2 separate regions of the Homo sapiens genome follow, and region 1 is linked to region 2. The links are contacts of gene promoters, found by promoter capture Hi-C in human tissues and cell types (Jung and others, 2019). All regions are on one chromosome and are shown on one strand. The core of a region is centred on a gene start or on the middle of the fragment in contact, and the rest is flanking DNA. Distances in the headings are between cores, read along the strand shown. Region 1 overlaps ABHD6 (abhydrolase domain containing 6, acylglycerol lipase). Region 2 holds the start of DNASE1L3 (deoxyribonuclease 1L3).

Evidence for each region. Contacts are between HindIII fragments. The study calls those that stand out against the background at their distance.
Region 1: a fragment that was not itself captured here is called in contact with the fragment with the promoter of DNASE1L3 in region 2 in 8 of the 25 tissues and cell types used here (H1 embryonic stem cells, IMR-90 fibroblasts, aorta and 5 more).

What each region holds. Positions count from the first base shown.
Region 1 is chr3:58,281,328-58,284,451 of GRCh38, reverse strand. All of the region lies in intron 7 of ABHD6 (abhydrolase domain containing 6, acylglycerol lipase), which reads right to left. Among named protein-coding and RNA genes, the nearest start is that of RPP14, 23 kb to the left of the region's middle. The HindIII fragment of the contact is 5,775 bases long and covers 1-3,124 here.
Region 2 is chr3:58,209,237-58,212,322 of GRCh38, reverse strand. It overlaps DNASE1L3 (deoxyribonuclease 1L3), which reads left to right and starts at 1,351. Exons shown (of 8, transcript NM_004944.4): 1 at 1,351-1,557. The coding sequence starts at 1,417. The HindIII fragment of the contact is 9,412 bases long and covers 1-2,302 here.

The sequences.
Region 1 (3,124 bases), core at 253-2,752, 72 kb before region 2:
AATGAGGATGACCATAATATCAAGTAATTCGCCAGTAATATCCAAACGCAGAACAAGTTCCATTAAAAAAATTAAGCCACTGGGGGATGATAGGTCTATTAAACAACAAAGAAATAAACTATTGAAAAGATTCTGGGGAGGGTTCCACAGTCCCACTGGGAGGGTTCAACAGCCCTTTGTTTATCATTTGACACTGTCTTTGCCTTCCCTGCTGAGGGCTGGTGAGGGCTGCAGCCAATGTGGACAGGCCACATCTTCTGGACCTGGGCTACTGACCCAAAGAGGTAGTGGTGGCTGGAAGGAACACAGTTCTTCTCTTCCTCCTGCCTCAGGACTCCTGAGGTAGAGTACAGGGTTCACATTAGTGGCTGTACTCCTCTACTCCTCTCCTCTACCTGCAAACAGGTCTGAACCCTTTAATTACACTCTCTCAGGAGTCCTGTGCACTGACTGAAAGTGGGGAAGAACCAGCCATGGCTGCTATGGACTAAACCAACCCTCTGGAGCATCACTAGACTCTAACTCATTCAGCCTGGACATGAGGACAATGACAATTTGTTGAATAACAACATTGTGCTCAGCATCAGAGATTTTCTTTGTTCAGCTATCCACCTGTACCCACATATCTATTCATCTTGTGTCCATCCATCCTCCACCTCTGCTCAATGCAGCCATCCATCCTGAACCACATATGCATTTGTCTACCTATCTATCCTGTATTCATCAATCCATCCAACCTCCATCTCTGCATTAACCAGATATCCTCCCATCCATCCATCCATCCAACCATTCAGCCATCTATCCATCCTGCAGACCTAAATCATCTGTGCACTGGCACATCAATCAATTCATGCAAAAATCTATCCTGCATCTACCCACCCATCCATTGTCCATCCCTGCATTATCCAGGCATCCTCTCATCCATCAATCCATCCAATCTATACCTAGGACCTACTTCATGCAAGCACTGTGCTAAAGTCTGGGGATAGAACAGCCAATTAAGACAAAGTCCCTAGTGGAAGACACAGACGTGCAATCACAACACAATATGACATGGTGGGCTGAGTGTGCAGGTGCTCCTTCTCTCCTAGGAAGGAAAGACTTTTGGAGCTGCCATTTATTTTTCTCTTGGTGTTTTCATATCCCTGACAACCCAAAACATGGAGTTTTCTAAAACATCATTTGGCCACTCTATTCTGGGAAGAGATCAGTGCTGGGAGAAAGGAATGCTACTTCATGGCTAAAAAGGGATTTCAGGGGTGGAACATGCCACAGCATCAGATTCTGGGTGTTTCCTGAGGGACAGGCCGTATCTATTAACTGAGCCATGTTCACAACTTCTGAATGGGATCTATTCCCTCAAGTCTTAGGAGGACCTGCCCACCTCCAGGCAGGGTCCAGCTCCTACAACAGAGGGAGATAATTTGGGGTTATGAAGCCTCAGCCATGGACTCTCCTCTCTTGGTTCTTCACACCATTTCCCTAGATGACTTCATTCAGTCCCATAACCTTCAATATTAGCGTCTGCTGATGGCTCCAGTGGTACAGCTTCAGGCCAGACTTCCCTCAGCTACACCTTGACCTCTGCACTTGGAGGCCTCACAGGCAACCTGAACTTAACACATGAAAAATGGAGTCCTTGGCATATTCCCCAAGCCTGCCCTTCTACTCTTCAGAATATACTACCTCTGTTTTTGTTTTTGTTGTTGTTTTTTTGAGACAGGGTCTCACTCTGTTGCCCAGGATGGAGTGCAGTGGCATGATCTTGGCTCACTGCAGCCTCTGCCTCCTGGGCTCAGGTGATCCTCTCACCTCAGCCTCCCGAGTAGCTGGATCTACAGGCACGCACCACCACACTTGGCTAATTAAAAAAATTTTTTTTTGTAGAGATGGGGCTTCACCACGTTGCCCAGGCTGGTCTCGAACTCCTGCATTTACACAATCCACCCGCCTTGGCCTCCCAAAGTGCTGGGAATACAGGTGCAAGCCACCATGCCCAGCCAGGACCTCAAGTGCTGGAAGTCACCTGGGACTCCTCCCCTTTCCCCAGCCCCCATTTCCAATTTGCCTGTACATCCTGTCCATTCTTTCTCAAATCTCATCTCCATTGCTACCATCCTAGTCTACACCACCATCATCTCCAAGGCACAATAGTTCCCAAATGGGTTCCTCTGTTCCATTTGTGCTCTCCTACAATCTCTCAGTGGTCCTATTATACTTAGAAAAACTCCTGGCTCCTTTCCGTACCTATAAGGTCCTACAGGATCTAGTCCAGCATTTTTCAAAGTGGTTCTTGGGAGTCTAGGAGGTCAAACTACTTTCCTAATACTCAATGTTACTTGCCTCTTCACTTACATTCTCTCAAAAGTACACTGTTTTTCAGAGCCTATAAAATGTGGGATGATGTCCTTGCTCTTGGCTACTGGAATAAGTGCTTGTACATTCATTGCATTTTGGAATCTTCTGAGTTTTCATTTATTTTCTTTTATTTGTATTTAAATAGAGATGGGGTCTCGCTACGTTGACCAGGCTGGTCTTGAACTCCTAGTCTCAAGCAATCCTCCCATCTTGGCCTCCCAAAGTGCTAGGATTACAGGCATGAACCACCGCACCCGGCCTGAGTTTTAATTTCTAATATGGTAAACATTAATAATAAATATAACCCCTATAAATAAAAACCCTTTGGGTTCCTCAACAATTTTTAAGAGTATAACGAGGATAGGTTCCAAGATGGCCGAATAGGAACAGCTCCGGTCTGCGGCATCCAGCGTGATCAACGCAGAAGGCGGGTGATTTCTGCATTTCCAATTAACGTACCTGGTTCATCTCACTGGGACTGGTTGGACAGTGGGTGCAGCCCACAGAGGGCGAGCTGAAGCAGGGCAGGCATCGCCTCACCTGGGAAGTGCAAGGGGTCGGGGGATTTCCCTTTCCTAGCCAGGGAAGCCATGACAGACTGTACCTGGAAAACTGGGACACTCCTGCCCAAATACTGCACTTTTCCCAAGGTCTTAGCAACTGGCAGACAAGAAGATTCTCTCCCGTGCCTGGCTCGGTGGGTCCCAGGCCCACAGAGCCTTGCTCCCTGCTAGCACAGCAGTCTGAGATTGAACTGCAAGGCGGC
Region 2 (3,086 bases), core at 102-2,601:
CCAAGTTCAAGCCATTCTCCTGCCTCAGCCTCCCAAGTAGCTGGGATTATAGGCGCCCACCACCACGCCTGGCTAATTTTTGTATTTTTAGTAGAGACAGGGTTTCACCATGTTGGCCAGGCTGGCCTTGAACTCCTGACCTCAAGTGATCCACCCACCTCAGCCTCCCAAAGTGCTGGGGCTACAGGAGTGAGCCACTGCGCCCGGCCCAGAGCCACCTTTACCAGAGATTCAACCAGGCCTGAGGTCTTAGGTTGCAGACAACAGGGAGATTCATTGCAGCACGAACTCAGGAAACCATTTCCTTCCATGTACTATTTGGGGTTATCTTATAGAATTCCTGGCATGCTTGGCCAGTATGCTGCCTGGATGTATGTTGGGGATATATGTATAATTTTCCCTGTGGCTGTGGCCACAGACCCATCACCACAAGAGGGGTTGGTCCACAGATCCCGATGCTGGCTTGGAGTTATTCTTATTCCCTACCCTTTTCACAGAATTGTCTTTGCCAAAGTCCATTAATATACCTTGATTGGATTTTGCTTTTTTTTTTAATTTTTTTTTGCTTTACAGATCTTCATAGTTTCCTGCCCATATCTCTAAAAGTCATTTTGCTTGAGTTGATATCCTACAGTTCTTACAAGACCTTTCTCTCCCAGGGTCACACAACTCTCGCCAATATTAAATTAATATCAGCTTCAATCACGGGTCTCTCCATGGGTTTCACGGGCTATTTGCTCGCAGAGTCCAGGGACATTTTCCTCATCCATTCCATCAGATCCCCAATTGCTTTCTCTGGCAACACACTCCTAGTATTTGTACGGTAAAGCTGCCTAAAAAAATTAAGTAATTCAAACTACTCTTGACCTTACTTTACACCACCAGGGCAATTAGAGTCACAGTCTGGGTGTGTCTGAGGACAGCAGGCCGCCAAATCCCAGTGATTTAGAGAAAACCGAGCAGAATTTCCCATGCCTCCTGCCTCATTGTCCCCCAGCAGAAGGTTCCGTCACCCCAGGTGCCCTCTAGGGTGGACCACTTCCGAGTTCATCCACTGTCAGGAAAAGGCACATGGCATGCAACCGCAAGACCGATGACTAGATGTCAGAGCTGGCTCCCGGTTGGGATATGAGTGACTTTGTGGAGGATGGCGCCTAAATGAGGCATGCCAATTTCTGCACCAGGGTGACGAACATAAGGGCTCCTTAAAGGCTAGCCCAATGTATCTGTATTTCCTTGGGGATTAAAACCCATGATCTTCAGTTCCTCAGAGAACTGAAAGTTGCAAGGAGAAATCCAGTAATTCCTGTTATCTGCAGGCTTTATAAGTCAGTGGAGCCTGCGGAAGTGGCCAGAATCCAGCACTCCAAGCACTGCTGTCTTCTCACAGAGTCTTGAAGCCAGAGCAGCGCCAGGATGTCACGGGAGCTGGCCCCACTGCTGCTTCTCCTCCTCTCCATCCACAGCGCCCTGGCCATGAGGATCTGCTCCTTCAACGTCAGGTCCTTTGGGGAAAGCAAGCAGGAAGACAAGAATGCCATGGATGTCATTGTGAAGGTGAGCCCCTTTCCTGGGAGGAGGATCCCAGACACCCCTCACACCCTCTCTCCTGTCTGCAGACTTTAAGAGACTCAAGGAACTTAAAGTTGGCCCTTAGGGGGAATGTAGAAGCTGGCTTGGAACAATAACCACTTCAACTCTCTGTACCTCCTGCCGTCATCTTAAAACAGGGGTGATAACAATGGTTCCCTCCAGGGTTGCTGGGGGGACTACAGGAGTTGGCAAATGGAAAGCTCTTAATGTAGTATCTGGCTCATTATACGTTCCAGATAAGGGTTAGCCATTATGATTTTTATTGCTATTTATTGAATGCCTGTATCAGGCACTATAAGCACATGGTTTCACTTCATAATCTTTATGAAGAGGGACTATTACTCCCCATGTAGAGGTGATGAACAAAGAAAGATGAAGTAACCTTATACAGCTACTCCTTTTCACCAGCAAAGCCCAGCTCCTTTCTCTCTCTTTCCTTTTCTTCTTTCTTTCTTTTCTTTCTTTCTCTCTTTCTTTCTTTCTTTTTCTTTCTTCCTTTTTCTTTCTTCCTTTTTCTTTCTTCTTTCTGTCTTTTCTTTCTTCTTCCTTTCTCTTTTTCTTTGTTTCTTTCTTCCTTTCCCTTCCTTACTTTTTTCCTTCCTTCCTTCTCTCTCCCATCCTCATCATCCCTCCCTCTCTTTGTCTTTCTTTCTTCTTCTCCTCCTTCCTTCCTCTCTCCCTCTCCTCTACTTCCCCACTCCTTCCACTTTCGCTTACGCTTTCCTTGGGTGATATACCCAATGTCCGGGGACACTGCTTGCTTTCTCTGGAGTCAATTGACTCCCTTTATCCTACAGGTTAATTAATTTTTGATGCTGGCAACTTAACCCTTTCCCAGGACTCTGGAAAGGTACTTATTACCTTAGGAAACCTGAGACACCATGGTGTGGTAGGGGGGCCAGGAGCCCTGGGTCCAGATTCCACCTACCAGACTTGTGAGCTTGGGAGGCCCTGCCCCTCCCTGAACCACCAGCTCCCCTAGTAAAATGGCGACCACATCCAAATACCACCTGTAGCACTGGCTGGTGAAGAGAACTCAGGGTGCCTGAGGCACCCAGCAGAGCCTGCAGCAAGGTGGGTATTCATGAGCCAGAGCCGCTGCTGTTGCTGTCACTGGGAAGGAGGATTGGAGTGAGGACTGGCAGGCTCTGTTCTTCCTTGGACGAGCCTCTCAGACCCAGGTGGCCCTGCCCTTTGGGAGGTAACCAAGGCCTTCTAGATGGTGTTGTTTAGCCAGGATAGCAATGCCAAGCCTGTGGGAGCCATGACAAGATTGTTCAATGGGAAACCCTGACATGCAAGGCAATGATTTTCCCCACTTCACACATGGCCCGTGGAGCCTGGGTAGCCACTGAGTTCCCATCTCCTTCCTCACTGATGAAACCCGGCTGTCTTTTTGTTCCTTGGTGAGTCCATCATGGGGGCTTGAACTCTGCATCTCCCCTGAGCAGCTGTGTCCTGCAGAGCATGTCCGAAGTCCTTGTCAAGGCTGC